Linked DNA regions of Homo sapiens: all the other regions are linked to region 1. Evidence: promoter capture Hi-C in 16 types of primary human blood cells and fetal thymus (Javierre and others, 2016). All regions are on one chromosome and are shown on one strand. Each heading gives the region's core, a stretch centred on a gene start or on the middle of the fragment in contact. The rest is flanking DNA. Distances are from core to core; before and after follow the strand shown.

Region 1 (3,124 bases), core at 280-2,779:
GACAATACTACAACTACTTAGAAGGAACCTAATTTTAAAAACGTTTTTCAGGGATTGAAAGTGAAATGCTATCCTGGAATATAATAAAGGGAAACCACAAAAAAAGAGGGATTGTAACAATCACATACAAAATGTTACAGTATTTTAAAACTGTAAGATGAAGTCTCTATAGGGAAAGGGTTCTTTTTCATCCCCCATTAACTCAAAAGTTTCCTGTAGCCAAATCTTAGGGGATCTGGTTGTTTTCCAGTGCTTCTCACCTGAGCATACAATCAAACTGGGAAGTTCTTTATCTTAACACCAAATGTCATACTTTCCCTAGATTTAGGTAATTTTCTCCCTATGTCCGTTGGTTCGCTCTTCACCCCTAGAGAATCACTGCATAGGTCACTGCAGCCTCGACTTCCTGGGCTCGAGATTCCCCCACCTCAGCCTCCCAAAGCGCTGGGATTACAGGCATGAGCCACCGTGCCCAGCCCGCTGACGTATTTTCTGAACAAATGATGCATTGTAGCCAGGAATCTCTAGTGATATTTTGCTTCGGGCATCGTGGGGGAAGACCATAATCAGCTATTTTATTCTTGAAATTTAGGAAAAATAATTGCTCTATCTTAAACAGTGAGAAAATATTTTTTGAAGTATGGCAGCTTTCCCGAATCCCCACTTTATATCTTCCTATGTTCTGAAATCTTAGGACCTTCGATGGTTCCGGAATCGAATCACCCTGCAGCAATTTATTTTAGAAAATAAGGCAAACCGGCTGGGCGCGGTGGTTCATGCTTGTAATCCCAGCACTTTGAGAGGCCGAGGCGGGCGGATCGCTTGAGCTCAGGAGTTCGAGACCAGCCTGGGCAACACAGCGAAACCTCGTCTCTACTAAAAATACAAAAATTAGCCAAGTGGCGCGCGCCTGTTGTCCCAGCTGCTCGGGAAGCTGAGGCGGGAGAATCGCTTGTATTCAGGAGGCGGAAATTGCGGTGAGCCGAGATCGCGTCACTGCACTCCAGCCTGGGTGACACAGTGAGATCCTGTCTCAAAAAAGAAAAAAAGAAAGAAAGAAAGAAAAGAAAGAAAGAAAGAAAGAAAGAAAGAAAGAAAGAAAGAAAGAAAGAAAGAAAGAAAGAAAAGAAGGCAAACCAGTAAAACAAGAATTTCTGTACAGTCCGCGCCTATCCATAGCAAAATGGAGGACTTCTCCAGGGAACTGCAACTCCCAAGAAGCAATGCGAGGGAAGGTGGCGGTCACTATTTTTTCCCCGTCTGCACCTCTAGGTCCAATATTGGAAATAGGTGCTGACGTTTAAATAACACAGCGTCCTCATACTAAATCTGGGGGGGAACTGGTAACTCGAAAACCAAATACTCGGTCTTCCGAAAGAACTAACTCAACCTACCCTTCTACAAGAGGGTCCGAAAACCACTGTTACGCCCATTGGGTAGCCCCGCCCTTGGGGGGGGCAAAGGGCGTGAAAGCGGAAGTGACGACACCCGGCGCTCCATTAAATAGCCGTAGACGGAACTTCGCCTTTCTCTCGGCCTTAGCGCCATTTTTTTGGGTGAGTGTTTTTTGGTTCCTGCGTTGGGATTCCGTGTACAATCCATAGACATCTGACCTCGGCACTTAGCATCATCACAGCAAACTAACTGTAGCCTTTCTCTCTTTCCCTGTAGAAACCTCTGCGCCATGAGAGCCAAGGTGAGCGGTTCCTGGTAGTAAGCTTGGGAGGTAGGAGTTGGCGAGTAGTAGCGAGGAGACGAAGGCAAGTCCGCCATACCTCCTGAACTACTGGGTTTCAAGGGTGCCCAAGAGCTGGTGGGAGAGAGAAGGTAGTTTGTGAGAGAGCTAGCGGTTAAGTGCTATGGGTAGAGAGGGTGGGCTTAGAAAAGGGTGGAATTCTGATCTTATGTTGGGAGGGTGTCCAAGTTACTGATGTAGTTGTTACGACCAATCTTTCATACTTCTTGGTTAAGAATCTGTCCGGTTCTAAAGAGTGCATTTCATATCCTTGCTAAGCCTACTAATAAGCTTCATCCCTTTTTTTTTTTTTTTTTTTTAATTATCTGCTGCTTGTGATCGGTTGCTAGTGGAGGAAGAAGCGAATGCGCAGGTACGTTGAGACTTTGCCAGCCCAGGAGGAGGGAAGTTCCTTGGACAAAACTTAGGAGAAACATTTGGTTTGGAAATCTTAAAAGATCTTTAGGAGAAAAACGTTTGAGTGTTTTCTCCCTGGAGCCAGGATTTAACAGAACAGAGAACGATAGAACCGTAGTGCTTGTTCATTTTACCACCTCATTCTTTATGTGGACGTTTGATTTAATGTGGGAGGGAAAGGCAACTCTGGTTTGAGGTGTATTCCATTCCTGTGTCTGCTTTTCAGGCTGAAGCGCAAAAGAAGAAAGATGAGGCAGAGGTCCAAGTAAACCGCTAGCTTGTTGCACCGTGGAGGCCACAGGAGCAGAAACATGGAATGCCAGACGCTGGGGATGCTGGTACAAGTTGTGGGACTGCATGCTACTGTCTAGAGCTTGTCTCAATGGATCTAGAACTTCATCGCCCTCTGATCGCCGATCACCTCTGAGACCCACCTTGCTCATAAACAAAATGCCCATGTTGGTCCTCTGCCCTGGACCTGTGACATTCTGGACTATTTCTGTGTTTATTTGTGGCCGAGTGTAACAACCATATAATAAATCACCTCTTCCGCTGTTTTAGCTGAAGAATTAAATCATCTTGTCTATTATGTTTTTTATGGTTCCATCGGGTGGGGGTTTTCTGTCATTAGAGTTTGCCCTGTCACTACCTGTGCTATGGAGGGTATCAAAGCTATAAAGGCAACAGCCCGGGTTACGTGGTGTGGTTTGCATCTCGCTGGAGTTGGATGGGATATGGTACGTCTCTGGAGGCAGGTTTTAGGTTTCGCGGGTTATTAGGGGCCAATGCTGGTACCGCCCCTTTCCAGGAGGGCTGCCTTGGCGACTACCGCTTAGACCATGTCGTGCCTTTGGGTTGGGTTGCCATAGTGACACGCAAAGCGTGCTGGGAACGCCCTGCGGCATGTCGCACGCGTACTTCATACACCATAGAGTATGGTTCCGGGTCTGCTGGCTAGAGCGTCACTTCTTC
Region 2 (3,176 bases), core at 634-3,133, 570 kb after region 1:
TTCACTCTTGTTGCCCAGGCTGGAGTGCAATGGCATGATCTCGGCTCACCGCAACCTCCACCTCCCAGATTCAAGCGATTCTCCTAACCTCAGCCTCCCGAGTAGCTGGGATTACAGGCATGTGCCACCACGCCCGGCTAATTTTTTTTGTATTTTTGCAGCGACGCGGTTTCTCCATGTTGGTCAGTCTGGTCTCGAACTCCCGACCTCAGGTGATCCGCCCGCCTCGGCCTCTCAGAGTGCTGGGATCACAGTTGTGAGCCACCGCGCCCAGCCTAATTCAAATTTTTTAAAACCCCGATTACGTATCACTTTCGGGGAGGGGGCTCCTTCAAAAATTCTAACATGCTGTGCTCTAGAAGCTTGTTCCCAGTGATAAACTCGCTTCAGCCTCACGCATCCCTTTAGATTTCTAGCCAATATACTCAGCCTCAGTATCATGACTTGAATCAAGCAAATCCTTATTACTTTTCCAAAGACATAAAGTCACTCCCCTCTTCTCTCTTCTGAATGGAGTCTAAAACAAAAGAAAAAAAAGGTTCCACCTTAATTGTTCTCCATACCTTTTAGGACGTAGTTAGTACCTTGAAAAATAACCTCCCGTCAAAAAAAAAAAAAAAAAAAAAAAAACCCTGTAAAACCGGCAGTTCCCACTGTACGCGGCAGTGCCAAGAATTCTTACCGGTTAAAATCGCCAAGGCTTTCCTTTATCATCGTAAAATGAAGACTGCCATAGAATCTGTATTCACCTCCACACAAATTTAAGATCTTTGGGACGACTGTAGGTTAATTAAATGCCTACTACATACCTATTTCATCCTACACTGTAACAAGATAGTGAAACCTCACCTCAAGTAGAACATGAAACACAGAAAATGTCCGTATCTTTCCAAAGTCGACACGTGCGGAACTACCTGCTCAATGGTAACTCCTCCTCGCTGCCAGGGAAGCGGCTGAGTTTTGGCAACCTCCCGTGTTTTCAAGAGACTGGAGTTAGGAGGCGGACTGGAAGTACCCACACTCAAGAAACCCAGACACTGGAGAGGGAAGTATGTTGCGGCGTGGGCATGGCTTCCTTCTAGTTGCCTAGCAGTACCTGCAGCTCACGGCGAGGTCCGCGTGGGGCTCTCCCAGGAGCTCCGCCAGGCACCTGGCGGCACCCACCACAGGTGCACTCGACTCAGGGCCTGGCCCCGGGACCACAAAGCAACAGAACCGGAGCGCCCAAGCAGCCGAGAGGCGACCCACGAAGGTTCACGCTTCAGGGCGCCGCATGGCGAGCAGCTACCGGGAGCTTAAGGCCTAGGGTGAAGTTACCGAAAGAGGCGAGTAACCCAGACAGCCAAAGGGGTAAAAGTAGGATTTCCGGCATGGGGAAGCCAAGGAACGGTTCAGGGGTGGGGGAAGCAGACATCTGGAGGAAAAATGTCCTCCACCCGCCAACGGTAACCGGAACAAGGATCCTGGACCTCCCGCCCCCAGGCAGGAACGACTGCCACCACCGATGCGAGAAAGGCTAGGGGGCCGCTTCCAGGGAGCCCCCAACGCGGCCTCGGCCTCACTCGGCGACCTTCCCTCGGCGGGGTGTCGCACTCACATTGTGAACGGGGCAGGGGGACGGGCGAACTGGTGGGCGGGCCTCTCTGGCGGCGGCTGCTGCTAGGGAGTCGACTTCTCTCCGGTGGCGACTCCGCTTTTTCTCTCCGGTCGCGGCCTCTTCTCGCTTCCCTCAGGCGACGGCGGCAGCGGCGGGCTCGACCTCGGGCCCCAGAATGCACCGCGCGGAAAGAGCGGCTCCTCCGGTCGGGGAGAAGAGGAAAGTGTAGGAAAAGGGGCGCGAGGACGGAGAATGAACGTGCGTGCGTGCAAACGAGGGGTGGTGAGGCCGGGCGGCGGCTGGTGACGCAGCAAAATGCCCGGGCCTTGCCGCCGCGCGTGCGCAGTCCTTGTTTTTGGGCTCCGGCGCGGCTTTCTAGAGATATCTACGGAAAGGGCGGGGCCTCCCAGCTCCTTCGCGATCCTTCCTGGCGCCGGCCCCGCCCTTCGTCCGCCACCCCACCCCCACTCCGCCCCCTGCTAGTCCCTACGCGTTCCCGCCTCTCCTCCCGCTCTGTCTTCTCGCGTTAGAAAACCGTTAGTGGCCCAACTGCCCTGCCATGCGCCTTCGGCGATTTCTCTGAGAAACGGTTGCGTTGACAGTGGGAGGCAAGGCTGAGGCGGAGGGACACGGAGTCGGGATCCTGGAGAACTGAAATGGCGCGTTGGTTACTCTTGAGGGAGTAAATCAGCTCACTGAGTCATCATTCCACCACAAAAACCTGTAAAAAGCCTGTGCTGTGGAAAAGGGCTCACTTCAGAATCAAGGGCCTGGGTCCACCTCGCCATTTTTCTGAAGGTTGGAGGCTCTGTCCAGGGACAGCGGAAATTCGAGGTTCTTGGCGGAGGAGGAGCATTTGCCAATTGGGGCGGGCTTTTGCCCCTACCTTGAGACCTTAGTGCTGTAGATGAGCCAGGAAAGGTATTTGAGGGGAGAGTCTAGGTTTCTGGGAATGGAGAGAGTAGGACATTGTGTGTTTCCACGCACATCGTTTGGGGGAGAAGGGGTTCCCCGTCGCTTTGTGCAACATATTAGTAGGGTGTAGTAGGGGTAGCAACCAAGAGACCCAAAACAGTCCTGCTTAAGAAGAAGCCGCTTAACGGTGGATTGGGGAAAAATACTCTAGTGCGCTGCATTTTGAACAGGAAGGAGGTTTAACGAAAGTGCTATAAAACCTTTCTGAAGAACGGGGCTTCATAATAAGCACTAAGGTATTTAGTGTCTGTGTTGTGCAGGACAGGTAGTGGGAGCTACGAAACCTGGACCCTAGCTCAAATGCCATTAAAAAGGGAAATTGGGCGGGGCGCCCGTGGCTCACGCCTATAATCCCAGTACTTTGGGAAGTTCGGTGGGCGGATCACCTGAGGTCAGGAGTTCAGGACCAGCCCACCCAACATGGTGAAACCCCATCTCTACTAAAAATACTAATTAGCAGGGCGTGGTGGCACTTGCCTGTAATGCCAAATACTAGCTAGTATGAGGCGGGAGGATAGCTCGAACCCCGAACCCGGGAGGCGGAGGTTGCAGTGAGCACTCCAACTTGGGCGACAGAGTGAGACCCTGTGTCAAAAAAAAAAAA
Region 3 (3,084 bases), core at 111-2,610, 960 kb after region 1:
AGTAATGTGATCATAGCTCATTGCAGCCTCAAACTCTTGGGCTCAAACAATCCTCCCACTTCAGCCTCCCAAGTAGCCAGGACTACAGGTATACACCACCACACCCAGCTAGTTTTTTTTTTTTTTAAAGAGACAAGGTCTTACTATGTTGCCCAGGCTGGTCTTGAACTCCTGGCCTAAAGCAATCCTCCCACATTGGCCTCCCAAAGCACCCACGCTGACCTCCCAAAGCACTGGGATTACAGATCTGCCACCATGCCCAGCCAGCATTTTTTTTTTTTTTTTTCAGACAGGGTCTCACTCTGTCACCCAGGCTGGAATACAGTGGTGCGATCTTGGCTCACTGCAACCTCTGCCTCCCAGGTTCCAGCGATTCTCCCACCTCAGCCTCCTGAGTAGCTGGCATTACAGGCATGAGCCAACTCAATTGGCTAACTTTTTTTGTGTGTGTGTATTTTTGTAGTAGAGATGGGGTTTCACCATGTTGGCCAGACTGATCTAGAACTCCTGGCCTCAACTGATCCACCCACCTCAGCCTCCCAAAGTGCTGGGATTACAGGCGTAAGCCACCACGCCCAGCCAGCAATATTTTTAATATATAGTACTTTTGGAGGATACTAAAAGATTTCAAGGTTGTTTCCTTCCAGCTGTTTTGTGTCACTTCAAATTTTAACAGCAGGCAATGATTACATGCAGTCCCTCTGATTTACCAAAACAGAAGATTCTCCTCTCAATTTGTATTTAATATCAGCTAATTCAAGATTTAAAAGTGACCACTGTCCAGCCGGGCATGGTGGCTCACACCTGAAATCCCAGCACTTGGGGAGGCCAAGGCAGACGGATCACTTGAGGTCAGGAGTTCAAAACCAGCCTGGCCAACATGGTGAAACCCCGTCTCTACTACAAATACAAAAAAATCAGCTGGGCATGGTGGCGGGCACCTGTAATCGCAGCTTCTTGGGAGGCTGAGGCAGAAGAATCGCTTGAACCTGGGAGGGGAGACTGCAGTGAGCCGAGATCGCGCCTCTGCACTCCAGCCTGGGTGACAGAGCAAGACTACGTCTCAAAAAAATAAATAAGGGGCTGGGCGCCGTGGCTCACACCTGTAATCCCACCACTTTGGGAGGCCGAGGCAGGTGGATCACCAGGTCAGCAGATTGAAACCATCCTGGCTAACAAGGTGAAACCCCATCTCTACTAAAAGCACAAAAAAAATTAGCTGGGTACGGTGGCGGGCGCCTGTAGTCCCAGCTACTTGGGAGGCTGAGGCAGGAGAATGGCATGAACCCGGGAAGTGGAGCTTGCAGTGAGCCAAGATCACACCACTGCACTCCAGCCTGGGCGACAGAGCAAGACTCCATTTCAATATAAATAAATAAATAAATAAATAAATAAATAAATAAATAAATAGTTGGGAGCCAAGATCACACCACTGCACTCCGGCCTGGGCGACAGAGCAAGACTCCATCTCAATATCAATAAATAAATAAATAAATAAATAAATAAATAAATAGTTGGGCCCAGGCGTGGTGGCTCACGCCTGTAGTCCCAGGACTTTGGGAAGCCAAGGTGAGGGGATTGCCTGACCTCAGGAGTTTGAGACCAGCCTGGCCAACATGATGAAACCCCATCTCTACAAAAAAAAAAAGAAAAAAAAATAAGGCCAGGCACGGTGGCTCACACCTGTAATCCCAGCACTTTGGGAGGCTGAGGCGGGCAGATCATTTGAGGTCAGGAGTTTGAGACCAGCCTGGCCAACATGGCGAAATCCCACTCTACTAAAAATACAAAAAAATTACCCGGGCATGGTGGCACACACCTGTAATCCCAGCACTTTGGGAGGCTGAGGCGGGCAGATCACTTGAGGTCAGGAGTTTGAGACCAGCCTGGCCAACATGGCGAAATCCCACTCTACTAAAAATACAAAAAAATTACCCGGGCATGGTGGCACACACCTGTAATCCCAGCTACTCGGGAGGGTGAGGTAGGAGAATCGCTTGAACCTAGGTGGCCGAGATGGCACCACTGCACTCCAGCCTGGGCAACAGAGCAAGACTCCATCTCAAAAAAATAAATAAATAAATAAATAAAAATGTATACACAAAGATGTTCACAAACTTACAACAATGAAAAACTAGAAATACCACAAATATCCAACCAACAGTACAAACCACCAATATCCAACCAAATGTTTAATCCACAACATTAATAATGATTTTTACCAGGCAGATGGCACGTGCCTGTAGTCCCAGCTACTTGGGGAGACCGAGGTGGGAAGTTACAGTGAGCTATGATTGTGCACTGCACTCTAGCCTGGGTGTCACAGCAAAACCACGTCACTAAAAAATAATAAATGAAGGCCAGGCATGGTGGCTCACGCCTGTAATCCCAGTACTTTGGTAGGCTGAGGCGGGCGGAACACCTGAGGTCAGGAGTTCGAGACCAACCTAGCCAACATGGTGAAACCCCATCTCTACTAAAAATACAAAATTAGCTGAGTGTGGCTGGGCGTGGTGGCTCACGCCTGTAATCCCAGCACTTTGGGAGGCTGAGGTGGGCAGATCACGAGGTCAGGAGTTTGAGACCAGCCTGGCCAGCCTGGTGAAACCCCGTCTGTACAAAAAATACAAAAAGTTAGCCAGGCATGGTGGCATGCGCCTATAATCCCAGCTACTCGGGAGGCAGAGGGAGAAGTGCTTGAACTCTGGAGGCTGAGGTTGCAGTGAGCCTAGATAGTGCCATTGCACTCCAGCCTAGGCAACGAGGGCGAAACTCTGTCTCAAAAAAAAAAAAATTAGCCGAGTGTGGTGGCACATGCCTGTAGTCCCAGCTACTTGGGAGGCTGAGATGGGAGAATGGCTTGAAACAGGAACCGAGATTGCACCACTGCACTCCAGCCTGGGCCAGACAGCAAGACTACATTCTGCGGGGCGGGGCGGGCGGGGGGTGGAGAAAAAAAATTAAATGAACATCTGCACATACATTGGAATGTAATACAAGTAAGACAACATTTACAAAGAATTTTAAGGCCGGGTGTGGAGGCTCATGCCTGTAATCCCAGCACTTTGGGAGGCCGAGGCGGGC

Evidence for each region. Contacts are between HindIII fragments. The CHiCAGO score rates a contact against its expected background, and 5 or more counts as called.
Region 2: the fragment with the promoter of PTGES3 here is called in contact with the fragment with the promoter of RPL41 in region 1 in 1 of 17 cell types (erythroblasts); the score reaches 5.3 in erythroblasts.
Region 3: a contact is called between a fragment that was not itself captured here and the fragment with the promoter of RPL41 in region 1, in 1 of 17 cell types (neutrophils). The highest score is 5.6, in neutrophils.

Annotation. Positions count from the first base shown.
Region 1 is chr12:56,115,104-56,118,227 of GRCh38, forward strand. RPL41 (ribosomal protein L41) reads left to right here and starts at 1,530. Exons shown (of 3, transcript NM_001035267.2): 1 at 1,530-1,696; 2 at 2,086-2,108; 3 at 2,379-2,864. The coding sequence starts at 1,685. The coding sequence ends at 2,421. RefSeq lists an enhancer at 1,122-1,171 and a silencer at 2,838-2,887. The HindIII fragment of the contact is 11,197 bases long and covers 1-1,716 here.
Region 2 is chr12:56,686,401-56,689,576 of GRCh38, forward strand. It overlaps PTGES3 (prostaglandin E synthase 3), which reads right to left and starts at 1,884. Exons shown (of 8, transcript NM_006601.7): 1 at 1,598-1,884. The coding sequence starts at 1,599. RefSeq lists enhancers at 991-1,040, 1,151-1,270, 1,769-2,294, 2,771-2,820 and a silencer at 1,931-2,120. The HindIII fragment of the contact is 8,036 bases long and covers 361-3,176 here.
Region 3 is chr12:57,074,024-57,077,107 of GRCh38, forward strand. The region is part of intron 1 of NEMP1 (nuclear envelope integral membrane protein 1); the gene reads right to left. Among named protein-coding and RNA genes, the nearest start is that of NEMP1, 3.2 kb to the right of the region's middle. The HindIII fragment of the contact is 8,733 bases long and covers 1-3,084 here.